Linked DNA regions of Homo sapiens: region 1 is linked to region 2. The links are contacts of gene promoters, found by promoter capture Hi-C in blood cells and fetal thymus (Javierre and others, 2016). All regions are on one chromosome and are shown on one strand. Each heading gives the region's core, a stretch centred on a gene start or on the middle of the fragment in contact. The rest is flanking DNA. Distances are from core to core; before and after follow the strand shown. Region 1 overlaps TMEM33 (transmembrane protein 33). Region 2 holds the start of BEND4 (BEN domain containing 4).

What was found. The method cuts DNA at HindIII sites, captures the fragments that hold promoters and counts their contacts. A CHiCAGO score of 5 or more calls a contact.
Region 1: a contact is called between a fragment that was not itself captured here and the fragment with the promoter of BEND4 in region 2, in 3 of 17 cell types (megakaryocytes, naive B cells and total B cells). The highest score is 8.2, in megakaryocytes.

What each region holds. Positions count from the first base shown.
Region 1 is chr4:41,949,051-41,955,773 of GRCh38, forward strand. TMEM33 (transmembrane protein 33) reads left to right here. Exons shown (of 7, transcript NM_018126.3): 6 at 252-335; 7 at 5,020-6,723. The coding sequence ends at 5,149. Among named protein-coding and RNA genes, the nearest start is that of TMEM33, 17 kb to the left of the region's middle. The HindIII fragment of the contact is 804 bases long and covers 4,512-5,315 here.
Region 2 is chr4:42,150,466-42,157,079 of GRCh38, forward strand. It overlaps BEND4 (BEN domain containing 4), which reads right to left and starts at 2,190. Exons shown (of 6, transcript NM_207406.4): 1 at 2,067-2,190; 2 at 1,192-1,911. The coding sequence starts at 1,678. RefSeq lists an enhancer at 664-1,507 and silencers at 1,273-1,362, 1,563-1,882. The HindIII fragment of the contact is 4,164 bases long and covers 1-3,206 here.

The DNA of each region.
Region 1 (6,723 bases), core at 3,664-6,163, 200 kb before region 2:
AAAAATTTCAAAAGTAATACAGATAAGAATACATTTATAAAAAAATTAAACAACATTTTACTCTTTACCAATCATGTACATTCTTTTATATCCTTTTTTAAGGATAACTTGGATTTAGACATGATAGATTTCACTATGACCATTTGATGAATGAAGATACACATATTCTCCAGTTGAATTGCTTTTAAGTTTTGAGAGTATACACATGAATTGAAATGTATATTTATCACGCTTGTATTTGTTTATTTCAGTGGTCAAGGAAGTTTGCTCCAACCTTTTATATACTATAGATTTCTTACCCTTCGATATTCGTCTCGAAGAAACCCATATTGTCGGTAAGCTGATGATTATTTTAGGCATGTTTTATTTGTTGAGAGTATTGTGAATATATAGTATTCGCAATTCTTAAGAGTTACTTAGCTAATGTGTTAGACTTTAGAAGCAAGCAGTGTTTTTGTAAATTTAAGTTCTAGGCCTTAGAATGTACTGGGGTTGGTGAGGAAGTGGTTGTATTTGTTCTTAGAAACTGAGACTGCAGTTATCTACGCCACCTCTAAAGCACTGCTAAAACTTAGCAAATTTTAAAATGTATAAGACATAGATTCCACTCTCAACTTTCCTAGTTGAAGAAACAAAACACGTGTCAATTAGATAAACAATGGTTAGGATACAGAATTCACAAGCCAATAGATAATGAATGCCATATGTTTGCTTTATTATATCAGTACTGCAGTCCACAGAAGGGAGAGATCATTGGGCCAGAAGATAGATGAGCCCAGGAAGGTTTCACAAAATTGAGATTGTGGGAGGAGTAAAGCTTTTGAATAGGGAAAAGCATTTTAGGTGGGGCAAGAGAGACGAGAAGCACAAGCCATATTTGAGGAACTTTATGTAGAGCTGTTTTGACTCTAATGGAGATTCTGAATGGCTAATTGCTGGAGCTAAGATTAGAAAGGTATATTGGAGCTATATTATAAAACTTCTTGAGTTTTAGGGTAAGAAGTTTGGAATTTATCTTTTAGGTGAATGGGAATGATGGTTTTGACATCGTCAGAATATTCTTCTGATACCCTTGTGCCAGAAGAGTTTGAAGCAGAAAAATGGGGAAGCAGAGAAATTTTAGGGAATTACTGTAGTTTTCAGGAATGGAGGCTTAAATTAATATACACTAAATTATGCATTCTGATCTCAAGCATTGGAGTAAAACTAAAATGATACTCAAATACTAATATTAAGATAATCTATTTTTAAGTTTAAAATAATGTAGAATTCAGCTAGAAATCCAATGAGTGCATTACAGCAATCTGTATATTTTCATAAGTACAGTAAAAAGAACTTGAATTTGAATGCTGGCCCATCATTAACTAGTTGTGTGACTAGGCAGGTTATTTATTTGGATTTCTTCATTGGTAGAGGAAATAACTCCTTCTGGGGGTGAAGCGAAGTAATATTTTAAAAGTACTTAGACTGTTATGTTCTTACTAGTTCATTTTCATTATTCTATGATCTGATTTTCTGTTCAGAGCGTTTTTATGCTCTATTAGACAATGTCTTTTTTATAATACTTTCTAAAATAGAACTTATTTTAGACATTCGTTCTTAGTGAGTCTCTAGTAGCAAATTAACATTCATTTTTACTTGATTTCTTGAGTTTTAGCCTTTTTTCTTTCTGGTCCCTATATTCATTTCAGACATTATCTTATATTCTCTTGCCCTGACATCTGTTATTTTAATCAGCATATTTGTTTTTCTGTGCTTCTTTGTGCCTCCTTCTCCATTCCCATTTTCTTCACATACCCTTAAATCATATTAGTACATCTAGAATTCAGTTTTCAGTGGACTGAAAAGGAAAGGATAGCAGTGAATCAAGATAACACAAATATGTGCTGGTAAACATCTTCAAAGCTGTCTTATAAGCACCCATTTTAACCAAACCAGTGGAAAGGTAATGGAAAATATTTCAGCTTGTAAATATTGATAAACAGGCTATAAAACTACATTTTCAGTACTACACTTTTTTTAATTAAAGGTTTTGAGACCATCTCTATTCACAATTTGTACCATTTTCACCTACGATATTTATTCTCAAGTTGGTGGTTTCAGTTGTTTTTGGATCTCTAGTGCAGATTGTCTATAGCTGTGCTGTCCAGTACAGCACAGCAACCACATTTGACCTTTAAATAAAATTCATAAAACTTAGAACTTGGTTCCTTTTGAGCACAGTTCAGGTGGGTACTCAAAAGCCATGTGTTGCTGATGGCAACTGTGGGTCAGCACACATATGCAAAAATTTTGTCATTACTCAAAGTTCTGTTGTCAGTGCTATTAAGGAACTCTCTGACTGGTCCTTCAGCACAGATATGCAAAAATTTTATCATTGTTCAAAGTTCTGTTGTCCGTGCTGTTAAGGAACTCTGACTTGGTCTGTGCCAGCGATGCAGCCAGTAATAAAAGAACTATGTGACTTTAGTGAAAGCGATTGACTTCATTAGTCCTCATGTCTTCTAGCTTTATTCATTTGACTGATTGGTTAAAACAGTGATTGTATGTTGATGAACTTATGTGGAATTAAAATATCTTCTTTCAGAGGTACTCACTGCTGAATAAATTAGACAGCTATGTAAGTCAGTGTGATGATGAAGGTGCTCTGAAAGCATAGAGAACAGACAGAGACAAATAAGAATTCACTGAGGAGGTGGGAACATAAGCCAAGTCTTTTAAAGAATGAGCCTGAGTTCTGACACATGGGTGCCTGAAAAGTGCTTAGCATACTTGAGCTCAGGAAGTATATAGAGAATTGATAAATATCTGTGTCCACAAAGGTAGATGGTAGAAAGGACTAGATCATGAAAGGGTTTGGATTTTATTTTGAGGTAAGGAGAGCCTTTGAAGATTGTAACATAGAGAGGCTGGGAACCCCCATGATGAAATCTGATTTAGAAATATTCCAGAAAATGGATTGCAAGCTCAGCAAGAGAAGAAAAATATCAATTTGGAGACTATTAGAGTAGTCTAGAGCCTGAATTAATCCAGTGGTAAAAGGAAAAGGGGACAAATATGAAAGGTATTAGGAGATAGGATATTAGGGCTTGAGAGAAAAGAGTAAATTAAAGACCCACAGGTTTCTGGCTTGGAAGCCTAAGAGTTGTAATGGTGCTCTCACGAAGACAGGAGATACAGGAAGGGCAGGTTTTGGAAAATTATGCATTACTCCAAATATTATTATTCCTGTCTTTCTGTGCAAGCATATTAAATACTTGTTTAGAAAAGTAGATTTGTTGCTTTTTTTCTAACCATAGAAGTAAAACAGGACACAAAAAGGTAGAATAGTAGTTGCATCTTTATACAGGATGAGTCAGCACATAAGGTGAAAATTGTGAATGGTTAAAATTACCCTTGATGATCCTTCATATCACTTATAAATGTCAGTACAGTATACATGATTTTGTGTATACTAGCCTGTATAATATATGTGATATCTACAGTATGTAATAATACTTTGTAGGCAGTGAGCACAGTTAAGACATAGGCAAAGCCCACATGGTTTTGGGCACAAACATGCAACATAAGTTGATGATAGGAGCGAGGGCAGGGAGTGGCAGGAGATGGGGCAGAAAATTAGATTGAGACTAGATTGTGGAGGGTATTGGGTGTGACACCGAGTACTTGGGCTTTAGTCGGAAGGCATAAAAGAGTCATAGTTCAGTGTATTGATCCAACTGGGAAGTAACATTTATTGAGCATCTTCCATATTGCATTTAAATTTCACCACAACTCAGAATTATTTTACAGAAGAGGAAATCTCTGAGGGACAATATGTACATTTAAGGAAATAGTGGGTGAATAAATATAACTGTCCATGTTATATATTTTAAAATATATAAAAAACACTGTCCATGTAGTATATTTTTTCTTGTTCTGTTTTAAAAAACTAGTTGAAATTGCCTAAGTTAAATGTGAAAATGATGTGACTCTAAAATATATATATATAATTTTTAAAATTTAATCTGAGGTTTTAGAGATAGCCATTTATTAAATACCTTTGTTAAATGAGTGTTTCCACCCATAAAAGATGTAGGTGTTGTTTGAGAATTTCATTGTATTTTGTGTTTTCTCTACAATGCATTCTAGTTATTCTTTTACTTCAAATTCTAATGGCTATGGTAGATTCCTTCATGAGTATTTGTTTAGCATTAGAGGCATACTTCAGAAATGTTGTGGGAGTGGTTCCAGACTACCACAATAAAGTGAATATCACAAAGCTGTCAGATGAATTTTTTGGTTTTCCAGTGCATACAGAAGTTATGTTTACACTCTACTGTAGTCTGCTAAGTGCGCAATAGCATTACCATCAGCAGTAAGGCTGTTCTGCTTTCTTATCATTCATCCGTTCACAGAAATGGGCTTTTAATTTTCTTCAGGAACTTTTCCTTTGCATTCACAGCTTGGCTATTTGGCACAAGAGGTCTAGCTTTTGGCCTGTCTTAGCTTTAGCCATGCTTTTTTCACTAAGCTTAATCATTTCTAGTTTTCATCTAAAGTAACAGACATGGGAGGCCTCCTTTCACCTGAGCACTTAGAGGCCATTACAGGGTTATTAATTGGCCTAATTTCAGTATTGTGTCTCAAAGAATAGGTAGGTCTGAGGAGAGGGAAAGAGACCAATCAGGAATGGCCTTCATGAACTGCTTCATCTTATATTTGTGCAGTTTGTGGTGCCCCAAAACAGTTACAATAGTAACACCAAAGAGATCACCGTAACAGAACAGATCACAGATCACCATAATAGATTAATAATGAAAACATTTGAAATAGTGGAAGAATTGGCAAAGTGTGACGCAGAGACATGAAGTGAGCACATGCTGTTGGAAAGTGGCACTGATAGTCTTGCTGTATGCGGTGTTGCAACAAACCTTCAATTTGTAAAAAATGAAATATCTATGGAGTACAATAAAATGAGGTAAGCCTGTGTATTGCTTTTTCCTTGTGTTTCTCAAAGAAAACTATTTTGTCTTGCAGGACCTTATTTAATGAACTGAGGATTGTTGTTGAACACATAATAATGAAACCTGCTTGCCCACTGTTTGTGAGAAGACTTTGTCTCCAGAGCATTGCCTTTATAAGCAGATTGGCACCAACAGTTCCATAGTTTAACATCTAGTTAAGCTACAAATATAGTATAAGCATTATTAGCAGCTGGTACTTCTGCTAGGGGTTGTAAATTCCAGGTGTTACACTGACCTCAATCCAATTTACATAATTTACATAAATGCATCTCGGTGGAAAAATAATCATTTTCTTGGCATGTTAAATCAAGCTTAAAAAGTTTTGAGAAAATTTTACTGCGCTGTGTTGCTAATGGTTAAAGAAGTCTGTATCTAGTGATAAATATACCAGTTTTTTTAAAAAGATGCTGTTGTGCCTATATCATGAAGTACATTAATTTCTCATGTAAAAAAAATAGCTCTAAAATTTGTTTCAACCTAATTGGTAACCTGAGTTTATATCTGGCATGAATTCATTATGGTGATACACATATGTGAATTCAGTACATTTTGAGACAGTATTCTACCATTCAGTAATTTTGGTTAATGATTTTAACACTTCTCAGTGTATTTAATTTCAAATTGTTTTTTTAATTGGTTTTATGCTGCTTTGTTAGGACAGATGTGTTTTGAATGTACCATTATAAGAAGAATTCTATGTATCTTAAACTATGATCTTCTAAAATTTTATTTCCGTAAGTACTTCTGTGGCCTTGAGTATTTTTTAAAAGGCTCAACTGTAAGCCTCTTAGCCAGTTGGATAAATATTTGGGGTCACCTAGCCATTGAAAGCAGAAAGCAGTAGTGACACAGCTTTCCCTTCAAAGAGCCATTGAGAAACATTTCTCAAACAGGAAATCCTTCTTTTACTAATGTGGACATATAGATTATTCGTATTATAGTTTGTAGAACTACCTAGTTCAGAATCTTGACTGCCAGTTTTCTTGGTTTCTTAGGCTTGAATTTTCATAGACAATTGCAACAGTTTAGATGCCTTTTGAAAGGAATGTAATGAAGATTCAGCATCTGACTATATGTGTGTCTATCCTGAAATAATAATGGAGAGTATACTGTAGATTACATGTTTACCCATCAAATCTGACTTAAAAGGTTAAATGGAAGGTTTTATAGGTAAGGTAATTGATTGGGAATGGGGTAGGGGGAGGAGTTGTGGGGGAATAATGTGCATTTCAGTCTCAACGCATAGATAAATTTAGGGGAATTGGATGTATTATTCAACTTTGATTTGGGTTGTAAAATGTGTTAAATCCTGTTCATTGAACTCCCATCAACTCTTATAAAATTCATGCTGATCTTCATTACCGTTGCATGATTGGAAATGTTTAAAACATTGTACAGTTTTAGTATAGAGAAATGTAATGGTTTTTGTGACCAGTTTCTGTCTGCATGTAATTTGGATTTCTCAAATACATTCATTAGTAATTTATCAGTAACATTAGTTTTATTTTTGTTCATCTCCTTATCTATAAAAAGGGGATATTCTTAGGATAAATACATGAAAAATTATACTTGATAGCTTAACTATAATCAGCTATTTTTGTATTTTTGTAATATTTGTCCACTAAGCTGGAGAAGCAGCCTCATACAGTTGATTTTGTGTATGTGGCTAGTCTTATTGTCACTATGTAAGTAATCCAATGGTTTTAGAAACTAAACT
Region 2 (6,614 bases), core at 940-3,439:
AAACAACAGAATTATTACTGGAGGCATCTATAACTCATTTAGACACAACACTTCTATTTTCCACAGGAGAAAAAAATAAGTCTCAAGATTCACTGACATGCAGGATTTGGGGGGCTTCAAAGTGCCATAAAAGGCCTTGGCAGGAACTTTTAGTTCTAATGAGTGGATAAACGTGGCTGCACCCACTGGGAGCTGGTGGAGAGGTCCCTTGGGCGCAGGCCTCAGGCTGTGGCCTCGCAACCAGCCCATCTCGCTCCCTGCAGGCAGGCAGTGGGCTGCTTTGCCGGGCAGCGCCCGCAGACTCGAGATAAAGGAGAGGAGTCGCGGACCCCAGAGTGGGTGCCTCCCACGAGGCGTTTCTGTAAGGCTCGGGCCGAGATGCTCGGGAGGGGCAGGACCCCGCGGCGCGGCAGCGTGCCACGGACGGGGACGAGGGGATGGCGGGGACGACGACGTGGGCGGTGGGAGCAGAGTGCCTGCGACTCCCGGGGCAGGAAGGAGGGGCGGGATGGTTCCCCGCGCCCGAAATCCACGGCGTGGCGGACGCGGAGGAGCCCCGAGTCTCACAACCAAGGGGTGGGAAGGAAAAGGGACAGAGCGAGACAGAGCGCCCCCGAGAAACACAGGCGCACAAAAAAAGACAGAAGGAAAAACGGAACTGAGAGCCAGCCAGCATGGACTGCGACAGCGTGAGAGTGCATCAAAGAGGTGGCGAAGAAAGCACTAGAAGGCAAAGGAGAAGTGGAGAGAAGAAGAAACAAATGGAGGAAGAAGGAGAAAGGGAAAAAGCAGACGGAAAAAGTGAAGTAGTACGAGGGCGTCCCAGCGGGGCGGCCCGAGAAGCTCCAGCTTCTTCCCGAGCGGCCGCCGCTATCCCCCGGGGGGGCGTCTGGCCCCACTCCGGACCACGCCCGAGCGATCCTGGTCGCCGACTGCCACAGCCGTGCTTCCCGGCGCGGGATCCAAGCCGCGGAGCCACCTGTTAGGCGCGCGCCGTCGGAAGCCCAGGCGCGGCGGCGCTGGAGAATCCTCTCGAAGTTTCCGGGTGCGCGGGGAGGCCCCAGGTGCGCCCCGACATCCCGACACGGCCCAGCACGGGTAAGTGTCGGCGGCCCCCCGCTTCTCCTTCCTGGGTCCCCTCCCGCTGCCCCCGGCCGTGGCGGGAAGGAAAGTTGTGCGGAGAGTTGGTACCTGCGCTGAGCTCCAGGCTGGCGCTGTCGCTACCCGTGCCGCCGGTGCCGGCGGCCGCCGCCGCGCCTGGGCCATACCTGACGACAGCGGCGAACGAAGACGACGAGGAGGCGGCGGGGGACGCGGGCGGCGGCTGCGCCGGAGTCCTCAAGTGGCCCTGGGATGTGGCGGGCGTGCAGGACGGCGACGACGACGAAGCGGCGGCGGCGGCCCGGCCGGGCCCGGGGGGGTAGGAGCTCTGCGCCTGGAACTGCTGCGGCGGCGGCTCGCTGCTGCTGATGGAGACGGCGGCGTGCGGCGCGAAGGGCGGCGGGGGCGGCGGGGGCGCCCGCACGTGCGGCAGCTCCACCAGGGTGGGTCGCTCGTAGCGCTTGGCCAGCGCCGGTCTCTTGCTGGGGAACGTCTTGAGGACGCTGTAGGGGCTGCGCTGCTTGTAGATTTTGGGGACGCTGGGCCCCTCCTCTGCCGGCTGCATCTCTTCCTCCATCCGGCGCCTCGGGGCCGGTCCCTCGGAGCACGTCCCCTCCCCGCCGGGCGCCGGGCTCCGAGGGTGCCTCCGCCGCCTGCCCGCCGGGTCTGCCCTGGTGCGCGCGTGTGGGAGGGTGTGTGTCTGTGCCGTGGCCGCCGCCGCCGCCGCCTGTCGCTGAGGCTGGCATCGCCGAGCCCCCGCGCGGGGGGCTGCCGCCCGAGCTCCTGATTGACAGGCTGCCTCGCCAATGCCTGGAGGGAGAAAGGAGGTAAAGAGCAAGTGTTTAGGGTAATATCTGCTAATGATAATGGGGGCGGGGCGGGGCCTGGCGCCGCAGCCGCCCGCGGGGTCTGCCTGGCGGCTCCGCGCCTCCGACGGGGAGCGGGGGAAGGGGGAAAGCGAGGACCTGGAGGACGCCCGGGAACTGGTGAAGAAGGTGGGGATCCGGGATCTGGCTACGGCGAGACTTTAGAGACCCAGATGTGGACTCGAGGCTTCTGCGGCTGCGGGCGGGGTCCGGCTTCCGAAACGAGCTCGTGGCGCCCCCTGCATGACCCCAAACTCTCGGGGTTGCACAGAGGAGGGGCTAGTCGTTGGGGCGGGGTCGTCAGAGTACGTGTGTATTACAGCAAGTTCTTCTACCAATCGGGAATTGCTCTCCGATCCTTCTGAAAAGAACCTCTTGAAGATCTTGGCCCGGGTGGTCGCGCGGTGTTTACGGGGCTTTGGGGTCCTGCTTTCCCCGAGCATCGCGGCCTCTGAGCTCATGCGGAACATAAAAGCTCGCAAGGCGTAGAACTTTTTCACGTTTTCATTTGTTTCCCGTAGGGGCCCCGAGAACGTGCATGACACCATGATTTCCCCCCCATTATAAAGATGAGAAAACCGAGGCTCTGAGAGGTTGAAGGGAATTGCCCAAAGTCAGACACTCGGGAGTGTGCGGCTGTGTTGCACTGACGCATCCAGGTTATTTGAAGTCAACTCCTCACTTCCCATAGCCAGTAGCCTCTGTGCAATTGAGTGGGGAAATGTCCTGATACCTCCCTTTGAGGTGATGATTACTTTCAACAGTGTCATTTTTAATATATGTATATGTACTTGCAAGCCCAGGGAAACACGAGAACTCACTCCTTGCATTGTTTTACTCACTGCAACTGGCGCCATCCGGCGAGGGTCTGGAGGGTGCCCAATTTCAGTAGCCGTTTGAATGAGAGATCTCAGTCGTTGGGAGGAAGATCCTCCATGGGATGCAGATGTCCTGGTCTCTCCCAGCCACTTTTTGGGGCAGAGGGTCCATTGCTCCCTATCCCAAATCACCCCTCTTCTAGGCCAACCAGCATACCCTGCCCCAGGTTTGCTTTTCAGCCTTCCTTTTTCGTTCTCCAGGTCAGAGTTCTGGATGCTCCTTGATGTAGGACCCTCATCTCTGCACTCTGAAGTTTGTTTCCTTTTCAGAGCCTTCCTTTTATTCTTAGGAAGGTGACCCATTTTCTTCTGGGGGTTCACATCTTTTGGCCTCTCTTTCCCTGGTCTCCTTCCCTTTGGAAGCTTTTTCTCTCTGCCTTGCTGGTTCAGCTTCTGTATTATTCCCCCCTAGATTGTCTCCCTCTCTCCTGCAGCTTCCTCAGATGGTGCTGTGTCCCCCCCCCAATCCATTTATTAGAGATGAAATAAATAATGCCATAAATATAAGTATTTGGGAGTCCAGGAACTGTCAGGGCTGATTAGGGCATAGAGGACATTTTCTTTCTCATTATGCAAAAGCATTTCATGGGGAAATAAAAGAGGTTTCATTGTAACTCATGCATGTCATATTTCAAGGAATTCAAGATATTAATCATATTTAACATTATTTGCAATGTTTCTCCCTGGCTTCTGAAAACTGCTAAATGAGGACACGTGGATCACTAGGAAAAGGAGACAAGCATGAGAGGGACAGTTAAGAAATAATGAAATGCTGGTGAAAGAGAAAGAGAATGAGATGCCAGGGAGATGTTTCTTAGGCACGTAAGTGAGAAATGGGGGAGCTACTTCTGAGACGTGAGACAGCTGAAATTGAATGATATACTGGAGGAAATAAATGATAACAAACCTCCCCACACTTTCCTTTCTATAAAGCAGTTCTGAATTTTGCATTGAAATGTTTTCCTCCCACTTTACTCCCAGATAATTTGCCAATAAGTCCTGGCTTTTGAAAAGAAATTGGGGTGGTGGCAGTGTGGGGAGTTAAGAGGAGAGAAATCTTTTAGTTCTTCTGAAGAAGTAATTTCCTGTACCTGGGGGCTTCCTCTTCTATGTAGTTTTAAATGTATATCCTCCTCACCACTTAAACACCTTAAGAGACTGGGAACAATACTTCTATTGTATATTTTCTATTGAAAAGGACATGCTGTCCTTTACATCAAAAAGTGATTATTTCTATAAAACTGAAATAATCAAATTAGTCATTTAGCTTTTAAAAGTGGGGGGAAGGGGGAGGGGAAGGTGCCCAGAGGAAAAATATTTAAAAGTTTTAAATGATCAGCTTTCAGATTTTCATGTGGGCAGTCACCTATGTCTGCGTCCTGAGTTCATAGAAAAGTGAAGTACTTAAGAATCACCCTTTTAAAAATAAAATGAGCATTTACTCTAAGTGTGGAGTTGAAGGCAATTTTAAAATTATAGCTGACCACTAACCCCTGCCTGAGATTGTATTTAACTGAGTATTGTACATAGATGTAATGTATTTAAGTGTTCATAAAATTACTGGTAGCACTCTGTGAGCATCTTGCTCTAAATTGTGGCCTAAATTATCAGATAGTGACTTTGCTGATATCTTCTCTTAGGGGTCTCATAGGAGCTGATAGAATAGTAATTATACCCATGCTTTAAATCTTTTTAGATATTTACTCTTATCTCAAAAAAAAAAAAAAGAGAGAGAGAGAGTGAGAGTGAATTTTGAAAAGCCAAGTGGCTATTTATGGACAGGGTGATTTTTTGATTGGCAGCATGTCAATTCCTTGAGCCATCCAGAATATAGCTTTTAAATAATAGCTCAGCCATGGGAAATGCTTTTTATTGCACCAATTTCAATGATATTTAATGAGCTTCTGATTGACTGTTTGATCTCCCAATGTTTTGTGCTACTTTTAATTCATTTCGTATAATAGAAAAAAAAGTAATTGGAATAAAATTTTGTGACAAGATAATGACCTTCCACTTTGAAATTAAATGTCTGATTAGCTTCAACATTTTAATGCCAAGATGATATTGCAGCAGGAACAGGAGTATGCATACTATCATTTGGTACAAAATGACTGAGGAATACTCCTTTGCTTTTCCCATTGCATAGCAAAAAAGGTGTGGTGGCCATATAATCGTAGGTACATAGGACTAGAAGGGACCTATGCAGTCTTTTATTCTTGTGACTAAGCCTCTGCCCATAGTTTTCGATGGCCCTGGCAAGTGGTTGTGCAAACCATGTTTAAATGCCTCCACTGATGGGGATCTTGCTACCTTCAGGGACCTTATTCCCCCAGGTATTTATTCCACAAATATTTATTGAGTGTCTACCATGTGCTAGGTACCTTTCTAAGCACTGGGGGATATAATGTTACCCAGATCACAAGGTCCTACTATTATGGATTTGGGGGGAGCAGGTAAACAAATAAACCAGTAACTAACTGAAAAATATTATTTCAAATAGAAATAACTATGATGAGGGACAGGCACAGTGGTTCATGCTGGTAATCTCAGCACTTTGGGAGGCTGAATGGGGAGGATCACTTGAGCCCAGGAGTTTGAGACCAGCCTGAACAACATAGTGAGAGCCCGTCTCTACAAAAAAATAATAATAACTGAGCATGATGTTGTGCATCTGTGCTTCTAGCTTCTTGGGAGGCTAAGACAGGAGGATCACTTGAGCCCAGGAGTCCAAGGCTGTAGTGAACTGTGATTGTGCCATTGTACTCCAACCTGGAGGACAGAGCCAGGCCCGTCTCTAAACAAACTATGATGAAAAACCAGGGTGGGAGACTGGGCACAGTGGCTCATGCCTGTAATCCCAGCACTTTGGAAGGCCAAGGTGGGAGAATTCCTTGCATCCAGGAGTTTGAGACCAGCCTGGGCAGCATAGTCACACCCTATCTGTACAGAAAATAAAAAATTAGCCAGGTACGGTGGCTAATAGCACCTGTAGTCTCAGCTCCTCAGGAGGCTGAGGCCGGAAGATCACTTGAGCCTAGGAGGTTGAGGCTGCAGTGGGCCAAGATGGTGCCACTGCACTCAGCCTAAGCAACAGAGTGAGACCCTTTCTCAAAAAAAAAAAAAAAAATAGGGTGAGGCTGTTACTTTTGATAGAATGTGACTGAGAGGATCTCTCTGAGGTGGAACAATAGAGCTGAGAGTTCACTCATGAGAAAAAGCCACCCATGAGAAGAGCAGTCCAGGCTAAGGGACAATAGGTGCAAGAGCCATAAGATGGGAACAAGCTTGATGTTCTCAGGGAGCTGAAAGAGGGGAAGCCATGGGAATTGCCCTGGCAAGGGGCAGAGCAAGGAGGAGAGGAGAGAGGCGGGCTGGGCCCAGGCTGTGCAGGTCCTTGTACATCACGGGACACTTGGGGGATTTATTCTAAAGGCAGCGGGAAGTCTTGGAGGTAGTTACACAGAGGTAACAACATGACCAGATTCATGTTCTTAAAAAATGATGTTTTCAGAAAAGGTAAAATCATGACTCTCATACGGACATAAAAATGAGCACGTGTTAAAGATTGTATTAAACATAATTATTCAGGGCCCTTACACTGTTCAAAGGGAAGCACAGATTGGTATGGAATAAAGGAATGTTGAATTGAATGTGTAAATGGTTTTTCCATGGAGGCATGCAGGTGGAGGAAAGGGAACCTATACCAGATGGGACAGTTTGCATGTCTGTCAGTTGCCTAAACTTGCAGAGTTTAGAACTTGTAAAAATA